Linked DNA regions of Homo sapiens: regions 1, 2, 3 and 5 are each linked to region 4. Evidence: promoter capture Hi-C in 16 types of primary human blood cells and fetal thymus (Javierre and others, 2016). All regions are on one chromosome and are shown on one strand. Each heading gives the region's core, a stretch centred on a gene start or on the middle of the fragment in contact. The rest is flanking DNA. Distances are from core to core; before and after follow the strand shown. Region 1 overlaps DSC3 (desmocollin 3). Region 2 overlaps DSC2 (desmocollin 2). Region 3 overlaps DSC3 (desmocollin 3). Region 4 holds the start of DSG4 (desmoglein 4). Region 5 has its middle 79 kb from the start of DSC3.

What was found. Contacts are between HindIII fragments. The CHiCAGO score rates a contact against its expected background, and 5 or more counts as called.
Region 1: a contact is called between a fragment that was not itself captured here and the fragment with the promoter of DSG4 in region 4, in 1 of 17 cell types (M0 macrophages). The highest score is 5.4, in M0 macrophages.
Region 2: a fragment that was not itself captured here is called in contact with the fragment with the promoter of DSG4 in region 4 in 1 of 17 cell types (monocytes); the score reaches 5.1 in monocytes.
Region 3: a contact is called between a fragment that was not itself captured here and the fragment with the promoter of DSG4 in region 4, in 3 of 17 cell types (M1 macrophages, monocytes and M2 macrophages). The highest score is 6.2, in M1 macrophages.
Region 5: a fragment that was not itself captured here is called in contact with the fragment with the promoter of DSG4 in region 4 in 1 of 17 cell types (monocytes); the score reaches 7.1 in monocytes.

Annotation. Positions count from the first base shown.
Region 1 is chr18:30,997,436-31,000,135 of GRCh38, reverse strand. All of the region lies in intron 14 of DSC3 (desmocollin 3), which reads left to right. Among named protein-coding and RNA genes, the nearest start is that of DSC3, 44 kb to the left of the region's middle. RefSeq lists an enhancer at 2,376-2,700. The HindIII fragment of the contact is 2,840 bases long and covers 1-2,697 here.
Region 2 is chr18:31,056,806-31,059,505 of GRCh38, reverse strand. DSC2 (desmocollin 2) reads left to right here. Exons shown (of 16, transcript NM_024422.6): 16 at 1-666. Among named protein-coding and RNA genes, the nearest start is that of DSC3, 15 kb to the right of the region's middle. The HindIII fragment of the contact is 982 bases long and covers 880-1,861 here.
Region 3 is chr18:31,021,874-31,024,573 of GRCh38, reverse strand. It overlaps DSC3 (desmocollin 3), which reads left to right. Exons shown (of 16, transcript NM_001941.5): 6 at 81-225; 7 at 2,072-2,238. Among named protein-coding and RNA genes, the nearest start is that of DSC3, 20 kb to the left of the region's middle. The HindIII fragment of the contact is 1,811 bases long and covers 474-2,284 here.
Region 4 is chr18:31,375,525-31,378,224 of GRCh38, reverse strand. DSG4 (desmoglein 4) reads right to left here and starts at 1,448. Exons shown (of 16, transcript NM_177986.5): 1 at 1,266-1,448. The coding sequence starts at 1,313. The region is part of intron 1 of DSG1-AS1 (DSG1 antisense RNA 1); the gene reads left to right. The HindIII fragment of the contact is 4,758 bases long and covers 347-2,700 here.
Region 5 is chr18:30,962,421-30,965,120 of GRCh38, reverse strand. No RefSeq gene overlaps it. Among named protein-coding and RNA genes, the nearest start is that of DSC3, 79 kb to the left of the region's middle. The HindIII fragment of the contact is 2,065 bases long and covers 308-2,372 here.

The sequences.
Region 1 (2,700 bases), core at 28-2,527, 380 kb after region 4:
CTCCTCCACACCACCATGCAAAATCATAGCCCATCTATGCTTGACGTGCCTACATGTAGAAACCTGTGATGATCTCTCCAGCGAGAAAGCAGGTTTAATCCCTTGACAGTCCTTGACTCATAGTAAGTTCTTATTTTATTTTTAAGACCGGCATGGATGACTTTTACTTAATATCTGTTCTTTGCCATTTAATGCTAGAGCTGATGATATTGAGTGGCCATTTCACAATATGTACCTGTTCTGTGTTAGGAACACTTCTAAAAGGGGCTTGGAATTATTAATTTATACAAAAACATAAAATTTCATCTTGAATCTATAAACTTGCTTTAATACAATGAGTAAAAGTGATCATTTTAGCTTTGGATCTGAATTTCACTTGAAGGCATGCACATGGGATTAGGAGTTGGGTGAATAATCAGGACTGGAAAAGTAAACCTAGAAATTATTGACATGGATAAAGAGTTGTTGATACCCTGTGAGAAGGAACTTTGGGAAATGTGGATGGAGGAGGACAGAAAGGAGCAGAGAATAAAAGTATGAAAGCTAGCCCTGTAGGCTCAGCATTGCTTTTAGTTTATTTTAAATTCCTCTTTTATTCACTTAGAAATATGATCTTTGAACTTGTGTTTATTACAACGAAATTATACCATCAAGAAGATTTAATAATTAGGAGGGTTTTTTTTTTTCCTTTTTTGTAATTGAATTTTATTGTAATGGCAACTTAAATAAAAAAATGTAGGGTAGCACTGCCACCAAATGGCTACTTTTCAATTCTTTTTTTCTGGTATTTTTTTCTAAGGCAATGCGACAGTAAGTATGACTTTTGTAGATATATTTCAGGTTCAATAAATCATCTGTATTTGAAAAATCTTTCAATTTAGTTAAAGACTGCATTTTAAGTAGAAAAAAATTTAAATTGATAGGAAGGTGGCACAAAGGAACCTGAATGTAATGGAGGTTCTTGTCCTGAAAGTAATGTAACTGTTTGTAATGAAAACTGACATGTCGAGGTTACCACTGTAACTAAACTTCTGTCCTATGGCTCAGAGGGTCGGAGTGAAGTTCCAGTATTAAGTTAATGTTTAATGAAGACTTTTTCATTTTAAAGCATTTCCTTGACTCTTTGTCATCCTCTAGTTCCCTCCACATCTCTCTTTTTCTTTCAAACTGAACTTTAGGAAAGAAAAAATTATATTTGATTTCTCTATAATACTCCTTCCTGCTTACCCAGCACTCCCTGGAAATTCTTTTGGCAAAGCTCATCAATGGCTATTCTTTCACTTAAATCCAATGGGCGCTTATACTTTAATTGAACCCATTCTTACCTTGCTGTGATTTTTCTGTTGTTGTTGTTAACATCATTGGCTGCTCCCACTCCTTACCATATTCTCTCTTCATGGCTTCAGGGTCCTGCCACTTTGGTTTTCTCTGTTATCTCAGTGGCTATTCAGATCTGGCCTGTCACAGCTGTGTTTCTCTTACCCTCCCCTTAAAATGTGATTTTTCTTGTGGTTCTATCCTTAGCCCTTTTTTATTTTGGTTGACAATTTTCTCTGGATAGGTCCTCTATTCCCATGGCCTCAACTATCACCTATTTGGGAGTGTCTCCCAGAATTATATCTCCAGCTCAAATCTCTCATCTGAGTTCCAAATCCGCATATTCATATATTCATCTTGGACATCCCACATGTTTCTAATGTTTACCATGTTCAAACTTTAGTTGCTCACTCTCCTCTTGCCCATAAGCACATCTTTCCTCCCTGTTTCAGTGAGTTGTACCATCTACCTGTTTGCCTTCATGGAACACAAAAGAATAATTTCTAACTCTGTCCTTGATTGCCTCATCCATCTAGATACTTGTAGGCTCTCTGTGGAGTCCATCTACTTCTTTCAGTCATCACTGCTTCCTCCTTGGCTTAGGTCCTTATCATTTTTACCTGGAATATCAGATCAGATCAGATGCAGTGACCCCCATCTGATCTCCATGAACTTAAATTTGTCTTCTTATTTGTCTTCCACATTATTGCCTAGAATGATATTTTTGAAATGTGTTTCTCTCTGTAATGAGTTAAAATTCTTCACAGTCCCTGTGATCTTCATAATAAAGTCTATTTTTTTAGCATAGCATATAGATCTTTATATCTTATGGCCTTTTATAACCTTTCTAACTCCCCCCAACCCTAATCTTATGTGGTAGCTGTTCTCAACTGATTGAAGTTGGGGACCCCTGAAGGACATTGTTTGCCTTTTGCCTCCAGACCCTTCTACAGTGGTTGCCTTGTTTGTCCCACTCCTACTAGTCCCTAGTCTCTTAGCTCAGAGTTTTTCCAGTTACCTGTTCTATTCCACCTACCCTGTTTGGATTTGAATTTTAATGCTCTACTTCTGTGCTCTTGTAACATTTTGTGCTCACCCACATAGTAGAGTAATCACATTCTCAAAGTATTTGTTTTTCTCTCTCCCTGGAATAAGATCTTCTTGGAGCCATCGAGAGACTATGTCTATCTTTATATCCCTAGGCTTTTGCATTTGCTATGGTGAAATTTGTCCCTAAAAGCTGATATGTTGGAAACTTAATCCCCAATGCAACAGTGTTGAGAGGTGAGACCTTTAGTAGGTGATTAGGTCATGAGGGCTCTGCTCTCATGAATGGATTACTGTCCTTATCATGAGAATGGGTTTATTATCATGAAAGCTTAT
Region 2 (2,700 bases), core at 121-2,620, 320 kb after region 4:
TTTAATAAATAAAGTTTTCACTGAACATATTATATTTACAGTAAATGATTAAATTGAAAGCAAAAAGAAAATACTGTATCATCTCACATTATCATAACTGAGTGCATTCATGTGCTTTTGGTCTTAAAATTTTACTTTAACGCACTTAGGATTTGTCGTCAGTAATTTGTTATGCACTATCTAGACTAAGAATAGGTATTAATTTACTAGAATTGTCAAATGAAATATTTCAAGCAAAGTTTGCATAATGAATGCAAGTTTAAACCAATTAAATGTGTTCACTTTTTAGCAAGCTAAGCTGCTCCTTATTTCTCCTGTAGTAGACACAATCACAGTTAATCTTTGCACAATGCATCGCATTCTCCATGCAACCTAACAGAGCGGTCTGGGATAGAGCCTGAACTTTGGGTCCCTTGGGGCCCAACAGGCAAGGTTCAGATCTGGGCTCTACCACAAACCATCTGTGTAACCTGAACCTCCCTAGTCTTCAGTTTCCTCATCTGCTTTAAAAAATTGCTAGAACATAGTTCTATGTAAATGTTCGGTGTTAAAATTTATTTGGTATCTACTGTATGTAAGATATGGCCTCTGCTCTCAAAAATATGTAGTCCCAGAAGTGATATAATATGTTCACGGAGACGTACTATTAAAAAGTGCCACAAAAAATCTGTAATGGAATGTTCTTACAAATATTACGTGTGCGTGTGTGTGTGTGTGTGTGTGTGTGTGTGTGACCTTTTTTAGCAAGAGATGTCCCAATCCCTTCACATTTACATCATTACAGAATTCCTTTGGAATCAATGGCAAATGTCCTCCTGTGGGGAGCCAGGTGTACTGTGAGTTTCTGTTATCATTCAGGGAAGAAAGCTGTCAAAAGCTTGCTTGTTTTAAAATTGTAAACAAGTTAGTGCTGGACATTGGGAATTTTACCTTATTATAATAAACAAAATCAATTTTGTTACTTGTTGAGCCTTGTTCCGGCGGCAGTTTAAGTTATTTATTAAACAAATAAATTGAGTCCTTTTGAGGTTTCTTCTTAAGTTTTCTTAGGGCAGGTTTGGTGGAGACTTTAGGGCTAACTTAAGTCCTTTGCTGAGGTGTGACTCCACCAAATGTCCAGAGTTTTCAGAGGAAGATCTTTTCTTTCCACTGCCTCAAACTTCAATAAGTTTGCTACTCACTTAGATGCCTTATGTGCATGGGGCTTTCTGTGGAAAACAAGAAATGGAGGCTGTATTTCACACCTGGGGTGTTGCAGTGTGGAATCGGGTGGAGCTCTCTAGGAATATGTAACAGAAAATTGAGTTAATCAAGAGGAAGGAAGAGATCAGAGCGGTGTGTAGGCAGAAAACTACAACAGGCTGTCTAGAATACCTAGACAGTCCGGGAGCACTCTAATATCCCTCCACACAGGGAATGGGACACAGCCTATTTCATTTGAATCTGAATTATAGGATTAACAAAAGTGAGCACTTGGGAAAGGAACCTCCGGCCATACTTCTAGTCATTAATAACCATCTTTATCATACTAGTAATACTGCAGCAGATGAAATTAACATTTTAAAGACAATAAGTTTTTTTTTCACAATAACTCTCCCTTTCTGCAGAAATTTCCTATTAGAAGAGCTGATACAGGTTTAGTGGTGTTCGAAGTCCTACTTATTCCAGTTTAAAGGTCAATCTCAGTGCGGTATGATATCTGAAAGAAATACAAATCTAAACCCAAAAGTTTTAAAAACATAATGCAGTTACTACATGCCTTCTAGTAAGAAAACTAGCAGAAAAACACAGAGTTAATAATGTGTTTCATACTTATGTCATAGCAAACACAAAGTTAACATACTTATGTCATAGCAAAGCTTCTCAAAGGCAACAGAAGGCAAATTTGGTTATCTCGGGAGTGTGAGAGAATGTATTGGAAGGATATCAGAAGTTTACAGATTCGATAGGCATGCAGTGAAATAGGAAGCAGAAACAATAGATACTGTCTTATAATGAGGGCAATACAGACAATCTCCTGTTTTAGTTGTCCTCATTATGGTGGTTGAAGTTTCTTTGCAAAAATAAAAGAAAGAAAATCCCAAATACCAGTCATTTTCAGTTATGTTAATGCAACTCACACAAAATTTTTATACAATCATCAGTTAATTTAAATTCCTCTTTGTTGCCTAACACATAGAAATCTTATGAAGATACATACGATTATAAGAACGCTTCTACATAATAAAAATAATCCTGAAACCCTCTGTATGGTTGATGGATTCATAGTCTCACACGGCTGTAAACAATAAGGTCTAGGATGATGAAATAATTTGGATGCTTTCCTGGAGACCAGAGCAGGATTTAACTCGCAGATACAACTTCATTTTCTACAATTATAATTAGATATGCTATTTCTTCCAAGAATAACGTTAATAATTTTAACCCTGCAATACATTTTAGGTTTAAGCAGAAAAGAAAAAAAAAGGCAACACTTTCAGTTTTAATCATTTTTTTAATTAAAACGTTAACATTTCTAAACATTTTCTTTAAGAGAAAGGGATTGAGGATTAGGCATTTGTGCCCTCTGCATTAAAATATGTTTCATCTTGGAACAGCACATTTAAATAATGTTCTAAAGCTTTTGAAAAAGCAGACTGGAAAACTAGATTCATTATGTTGCACCTAATTGTCCTCTTAGCATTCTAATACAATGCTAAG
Region 3 (2,700 bases), core at 130-2,629, 350 kb after region 4:
AGGCAGGTAGTAGATAAAGCATCTTATTCTGTCTTGCCGGGATCTGATATTAATGGAACTTTCTTTTTGCTATTTTGCAGTTGATTGCTTATGCGTCAACTGCAGATGGATATTCAGCAGATCTGCCCCTCCCACTACCCATCAGGGTAGAGGATGAAAATGACAACCACCCTGTTTTCACAGAAGCAATTTATAATTTTGAAGTTTTGGAAAGTAGTAGACCTGGTAAGTCTGCTTTTAAGAATAAAAAGAATCATTTTAAATATGTCTGTGTACATTTTAAAAGACATAGAGCTTTTTATACTCAAGGCCAGATCAGCCTGAGATAACGCTGAACTAGAATCTACTTACCAGAAAACACTTAATCCCATCACTTTCAATCAACATGTGCCTTGCCCAGATAGTACAGAAGTTTCTGTCATTGTCAATATGATACTAATTAACTGTAAAGGGAGCTAACAGTTATTCAAGCTTTGTGTAATATTCAGTTTATATATTTTATTTCATTTCCTCGTGGGTTTTTCATTATTCTCAACTCCAAGAGAGGACATGCAGGGTGGAATGAACAATAAAACTAAAATCGGTATAGTTTTTTTCTTTGAGCTTTTATTTAGGAAGGTGTTAAATGACATCCACTAAGGGTACAGTTTTTTTTATGCTCCTATTTATATTATCTTCTTTTAAAACTACTACCTCACTACTTCCAATTTAGAATGAATACCGGAATAACTTCAGAGAAACTTACATCAAATGTTCTCTATTCTAAACACTTGCTCTTACATGTGGAAAACTGAAGTATTTTAGTTTACCTGGCCCTTAAAATGTGGCACTTACGATGGCTTCTGAGACTTGTAATATGGAGAATAACCCCTCACAATAAAGTTAAAAGAAGGAGGATTCAGTCATAAAGGATGACTTTCCTAATTTGCTTTTTAAAGTTTCCAGTAGTTGCTTAGATCTTCACTGCAATATTATATCTGCTTTTTCCCTTTATGTTTTCCTTTGTTAATCTGATGTCATAGATGTTAACCTCTTTATTACTCACGTGGTACAATTTTAAAAATTTAAAAAAATTATTGGTTTGGAGTTTAGGAAACCTAGTTTTGTTTCTTTTTAAATAAATTTTATTGTGTGTAGTGAAGGTTTACAACATGATGTTATGGAATACACACAGATAATAAAATGGCCACTAAAGCATAGAAAACATCGTTTTTGATGTAGGGTGTGTTACTAACTCACTGTGGAAACTCATGGAAGTCCCTCTGAGTTTTCTTACTTGTAAAAGGAGTTCATTACATTACATGACCTACAATGTTTTTAGCCTCACAATTCTATGACATTACATTGACATTATATTGCCTTTAATTAATTAGCAATGGGGTATGCTTTCCCTTTTTCAAAAAGGGGTAATTAGTTTCAGGCTTTCTTGAGGAGTCTGTTCTCTTTTACAGTAACAGAGAAAAAAAAAGGACAAACACTTCGATGCCCAGCTTAACCCAAGGTACTTTAAGCACATTTTATCAGTAGGTTCAGACCAGTTAAGGCTGTGATACTAAACCGGTTTATTAAAACAAATCAAATCAGGAAGTAGCAAAAAGATTATAGAAAGGAGAGGCTGGACTACTAAAGGTCAACTTGATCATCTATATTATTACTGCATACCCCTAATCAGTCTTGATTTAGCTATTAATCAAAAGTCCAATTTTTAAAAAATCTGATTATTAAGGAGACATGGTTTATTCCTCCATCTAGGTTTGTTATTGAAATATGTGCACATATGTATTCCAATTAATTTTGATTGCCATTTAACTAATTTATTTAGTGATTTATGATCAAATGTGTTAAACTGTGAGCAAAAGTATACCTTAATTTTCAGCATCAAAGTGTTATGTGTGATAAATTTGAAGTTATCCTCTTCAGTCCTATCTAAAGATGAAATAATACTCTGGTAATAAATACATTTTAGATTAGGTTTCTATCATCACTGTTAACATTTTAAGATTGTAGATACTTTTGAAAGTATATTTAACAATTCTGTAAATTAAAGGCTGTTTTATTTTTTAATGTGTAGGTACTACAGTGGGGGTGGTTTGTGCCACAGACAGAGATGAACCGGACACAATGCATACGCGCCTGAAATACAGCATTTTGCAGCAGACACCAAGGTCACCTGGGCTCTTTTCTGTGCATCCCAGCACAGGCGTAATCACCACAGTCTCTCATTATTTGGACAGAGAGGTAGCTCACACACTCCATAGAATTTCATTTCGCTGAGGATTAAGCTTCCCTCCCCCATTTATTATAACTTGCTATCCTGTGGATTAATAGTTTAATTTTATTTTAGGCATAAGACAATAAGAATTCCTAACAATTTTTTCTGTTTTTTATATTATTTCTATTTCCTTATGTTAGAGTAGCCATAAGGACTAGAAACGCAGATCAATTGGCATTTAGAAGGGATGAGAAAAGAAAAAATTTCATTATAAATTTTTTTTTCTTATGTGTGGCTAGTTGGTTCCAGTTCAGCAAAGGTTTCAATTTTCATGTAGGACAATTAATTTTGCTTGTTCTATGAGTGTGGATCATGCCCTGATTTCTACTTTAATTATTATAGATATATATACTTTTAGTGAGGAAAGGATTAGTTGAAATAAAATTGATGGATTATTAAAAATATGAAACACTTTTTTGGATGATAGT
Region 4 (2,700 bases), core at 199-2,698:
ATATTGCCCTTCGTCTTATGTTTTTAAGTTTAAAAATATTTTTCAAAAATGGTATTGTTTAATAATCTGTCTCCTAAACTCAGAGGATGCAATATTCTACCACTGTTGTCACGTTCCCTTTTGAGCTTGGGGTTGTGTGCCCTTTGGCAGTGTTCGGCTCCCGCACTGCTCTTGAAGTTTAGAAATGTGAATTCCAGAAGAGTAGCTCTCACTGTGCCTCTTGGACAATGACGTGCTCCCATCTCTCCCAGCCCTAGCTACTCTCTGTCTCTTACAACTGATGTTCAGAGGAGTCTGGTATAATTGCCACTTGCCTAAGAATAGGATGGGAATCACTTTCTAAGCTTAGGTTGTAGCGCTAACCTGGATACTCCTGGGAGATTGAAGTGTGGCCAACTATAATGCATTTGTCTTAATTTACTTTGAAAAATTTGTACAGTTCCTAATAATCCTGTCCTCTTACCCTCCCAGAATTGGCAATAGTTTGTTGATTGGCCAACTGGAACTTTGTTCTTCTTTGGAGTTGGAATTATCTCTTTCTAGGGTAGGATATTTGCTATGCATGCTGCCTGTCTGGAAATCATGTCACACCTTGGGCACCCAAAGGTTAGAGGAAAGAAATATAATATCCAAGATGCCATGTTTACTGTAAAGAAATAAGTCATTTAAATATTTCTTTGCTGGTCTGTAGGAATGCATTCATAATTCCAGAAAAGTTTTGTCTTGATGGCTGGGCTTCATTTTTCTTTAGCAATATCTGACTGGAAAAAGTTCTCATGACTTTAGTATGTCATCATTAGTTGCAATGTAATTTCAACATGGCTATCATTCCTCCACTTTGAAAGAAACTCATAGGGAAATAACTATTGAAAAGAAATGGGTTTGATTAACTTCCCTTCAAATTTAGAACCCATTTGCACTGGCAGTTTTCACAGCAATCTATCTGATTTATTTATATGATCATAGAATATGAATTTTATTTCCAATTTAAAATTTTAGAATAGTCCTAACACTCAAAGTGAAGTAGATTATGTCTCTGAGGGCATATAAATTTAATTCAGCCAGATTCTCACCCCGCTTCTCTATGGCATTTTGTTCCTCAAGGCGGAGAGAGTTGTTTGAAATTAACAGAGGCTGGACTTCTAGAACTCTCTTTGCAGGAAGGAGATTAAAAATGGAATAAATCCCATGTAGAAAGCCCGACAGTTGACAGAGACAAGACCTTGAGGCTGCATTTCCTTCCCACCTCTTTAAATTCTACTTACCATTAGAATGATCAAAAGGCAAATGTTTCTGAAGAAGAGCCAATCCATTCCTTTGGGTTTCTCTTGCACGCAAATCCTGTGAGATTCAATTTGAGCCCTCGTCTTCTCAGTTCCGAATTCTGCTCTACAGAAAGATATGCTTTGAGACACCCTTTTAGGAGGGCATGGGTGATAACTGTGGTGATCTCTGGGCAGAGAGATGAAGATATTCTATAATGACTGTTTCCCCACCCCAAACTCCCAGGCTGGTCTGGAAGACTGGCATTGTTTGGGCTCTGGGTAAGAATTTAGACACACCTTGATTCTTATTGCAATGAAACCCTTTGTTGGACACCAAAGAAAAACCTTACAGAGCGAGGACAAGATTTACAGGGAAGATAGCCAGTGAATAATAAATTACTCACAACATAAAAAATAATTAAAATGCTAGGGCCTATCATCATGCTGAATAAAATTAGAAGGCTTCTTCTTACTGCCAACATTGTAAAAGCAAAATTACATATACTGACAACACATACACACACATGTCCACTGCAGAACCCACTTCAAGGAATGATACTTTTAGCAGAGGCCATTGTTGAAAGTCATCAGGACTCAAGTATGGTATAGGAAGAAAGATAGAATAATGACGCTCATTTCAATTCAGTTGAGTCCTGCTTCTCTCTTTAAAATGTCTTGTGGTTGAACCGCACTCTCAATTTTAAAGATTTTCTGAAATAACAAAGTTAAGATGAAGGAACTCTGATTTAACTAGTACCAGTATGTTTGTTTCCATACTTTGGCATTTTCTTTCTTGATTATTCAGTCAAACCTCTACAATATGATATTTACAAAATCATTTTAAAGTAACTACAATACAACATTCTCACTTCTCATAGTATTACCACTGATAAAAAGTACATAATGTGGGTGAGGAACACATTTTACACCACCACAAATATTTATTAAGGAGAAACTGAAGTTGGAAACGTGAGAATTTAATGAAAAAAAGCCCAGAGTGGGATCTGGATATTTTTGAATATTATTTCCCTTTTTCGTGTCTCCCTTTTCCTTTGTTAGTATGGGTTTGAAACAGGGTATAGAGTGTCCTGATGCAAACATTGCAGGCTGGCAGCAACATCAATAAACTTAAAAGAAAATGCAGTTAACTGTTCTCTGATTGATAGATAATACATGTTGGTTGGAGAATTTCAAAGGGAGACTGCCTCCTGTCTTCACTATCCCATCACTGTAATTCAGAAACAAGGTTGACCCTGGTAATAGAATGTATTCTAAGTATTGCTTAGTTTCTTGAGAAAAGTAGTTTTAGTATTTTTGGAAGCCAGATAAAGTAATTTACTTTTGCATTATTTCATGTCATGTTGAATTAGATAATTTAATTTGCCTAAGAGAATTAATGAAACAACTCCAGGTCTTTAAGTGACATTGCTTTTTA
Region 5 (2,700 bases), core at 91-2,590, 410 kb after region 4:
ATGAATTAAATCAGAATCTGGAGGTCTAGAACCTGGCATTGGTATTTACAAAAAAAAACCCCAAGGGATTGTACTATGCAGCAAGTTTTGAGAACCCACAGCTCAGCTTATGATAGTTACATCAGAGATAAAGAGTGGGAGTTGAATTTGAGGCATTTTTAAGGTGTGAATTTCAGAGCAGTGTATATACATTACTGTATGTAAGAATACCCAGAAGATCTTGAAAACTACAGATTCCGAGTCAATAGGTCTGAAGTGAGGCCTGAGATTCTGCATTTCTAACAAGCTCCCAGGTGATGTCAAAGCTTCTTGTCCTTAGACCATACCTTGTGGAGGAGGATTATGCATTTTGCATAGGGGAGAGAGGGAGAAAAAACATCAAGAATGATTTATTAATTCTGACATTGGTGACTAAGGGAATCTGATCATAAGAATTTAGAGAAAGATCATGAACTCAGTTTTGAACATATTGAGTGTAAATGTGCCCATGAAAAATCTGAGAGAACATGCAAGTTCTATAGCTTGGAGGAGGTGTCTGTACAGGAGACAAAGATGTGTGCATCATCAGCCTTCTGAGAACAGTTGAACCACAGGAGTTGATAAAAATGCCTGGGTATAGTGTGGAGTGTGAGGTGGGCTAAAGACAGATCCTGAGAAAAGTAAGAAGAGAACACTAAGGTGAAAAAATAAGATTTTTCCAGGATATAGGAGGATAACCAGTAGGATGATATGTCATAGAAGCCAAGGGAAGAGAGAGGAATTCAATAAGAGAGCAATCAACTCTGACAAAGTCTGCTTGAGAGTCCCCATAAGATTACTGAAAGAGGCCCATGCAATATCGCAATAAAGAGGTCACAGATGAACCTAGTGAGAGTGGCTCTGGAGTCCTTGTTCTGGAAAGCCGACCACTGTGAGTGGACAAGTGGATGAGTACCTGGAGGCAAAGAAGTATTAAAAATAGGACCGTATTTCTTAGCCATGCTGCCTGGGCTGTGGAGGGAAGAGGAAGAGATAGATGGTAGAGGTAGTCTCAGGGGGCTAGGGAAGGTTTCTTTTTGTTTTCTTGGTTTTTTTTTTTTTTTTTTTCCTTTTACTAACTAGATTTGGCATTAATTTTGATCATCTCTCTTTCTAAGAGTAGGTTTATTATCTCTTTTATTTGATTTCGGCCTGACTCATTATCTTAGTTTACACTCTGCTCCTAGTTTAAGTCATTAAATACATCCTTAACATCTTCCTGTTACTAATTCTGTCCTTAGTTTTGAGTATAAATTGTTCACAAATGGCCTTTAAATTCTTTCAACATTGACAGTCTACCCTGTTCCCTGGTTCCCAGCTTCCCTGACTATTTTTGTTGCCTCTTCTCATGCAAGTCTACCTCAGAACATCTGTTCTCAGTACTTTCTTTGTCTCTACTGAACCTGAGCTGGTAGTAATTTCCTTACTCAGGGCTGCTCTTTTTACCCAGAGTTCTATAATCTAACACATTACAACAGATTTTTGTCCTTGATTGTATATCAGAATCACTTTAAAAATACAGATGACTGGGCTTCACCCAAAGTCATTTAAATCAGAGCCCCTGAGGTGGGCCTTGGGCCCCAGCATGTATTTCTTGTGTGTGGTTGATGTGGTGCAGAAAGTGCTACCCCAAAATAGGGCTCTTTGGCATTTGAGGAACCAGCAGAAGCAGGAAGGCCACTCTCACTCTTCCTCCTCCATTATCCCCTGAAGCAGGTCATAAGACCTAGGAAACCTCTCCCATCTATTCCGCTGCTTCTCCTCTGAACACCCTCATTTGAAAGGTGTCCTGCCCTAAAACCGGAGGAAAGGCATGTCACTCAGAAACACCAAGAAGGATCTGGACAAACAAACCTTGTCAACTTCCCTTCAATTTCTTACCATTCAAACTTCTGCATGACTGTCCATAACAATACATGGTTTTCCCTGGGTCTTTCTGTCTTCATTTTTGAAGGCTGCCATGACATGAACAACTGCCTTTTGTCATGAGGAGTCAGCAATGCACCTTATGATGGGTGAGAAAAAAATCTGTTCTCCTCTACACAATCAGGTTTGAGAAGCACTGCTTTATAGGCGGTGGAACGTTGTTTCTTCTGCACAATTCAAAGAAAACCAAAATACCTATTTTAACAAGTTAACAGATTTCTTCATCTATATCTAGATGAACATATTGATCTTAGGAATGTTATTTTTATAATATCACAAAAACTTATTGAAGGAAGACAGAATTATTATAAGCAGAAAGTGTATGGCTAGGATAATTCCTGGAAGGAAGTGTGAATTAAGACAGGAAGGGGAAATGAGGGAAACGTCTGGAAACAATGTCTCAAGATTGAAGAGACTAAACAGAAGCTTGGAAAGATACTAGTATCAAACCAGAAGGACCTGGAAGAGTGACAATGAAACTGTAGCTAGGATAGGGGTCCAGGGGAGACAGATGATTTTGTAGAATTCCATATTTATAATAGGGAGAAGCAAGTTAGCTTAGAGTTTCAGGTGGCTGTTAGGAAACAACTCTCTCCTCCAAACATGAAGTTATATCTGAATCACTGACTGATATAATTTTGCTTTCATCAAGAACTCAAGAAATATTCAGGCTGGAGCTAAACCATGTTAGGAAGGAGAAAGCAAGGTTTTTCAAATCCTTATCACCTGGTTCTTTTCTAATAATTTGCCAACATA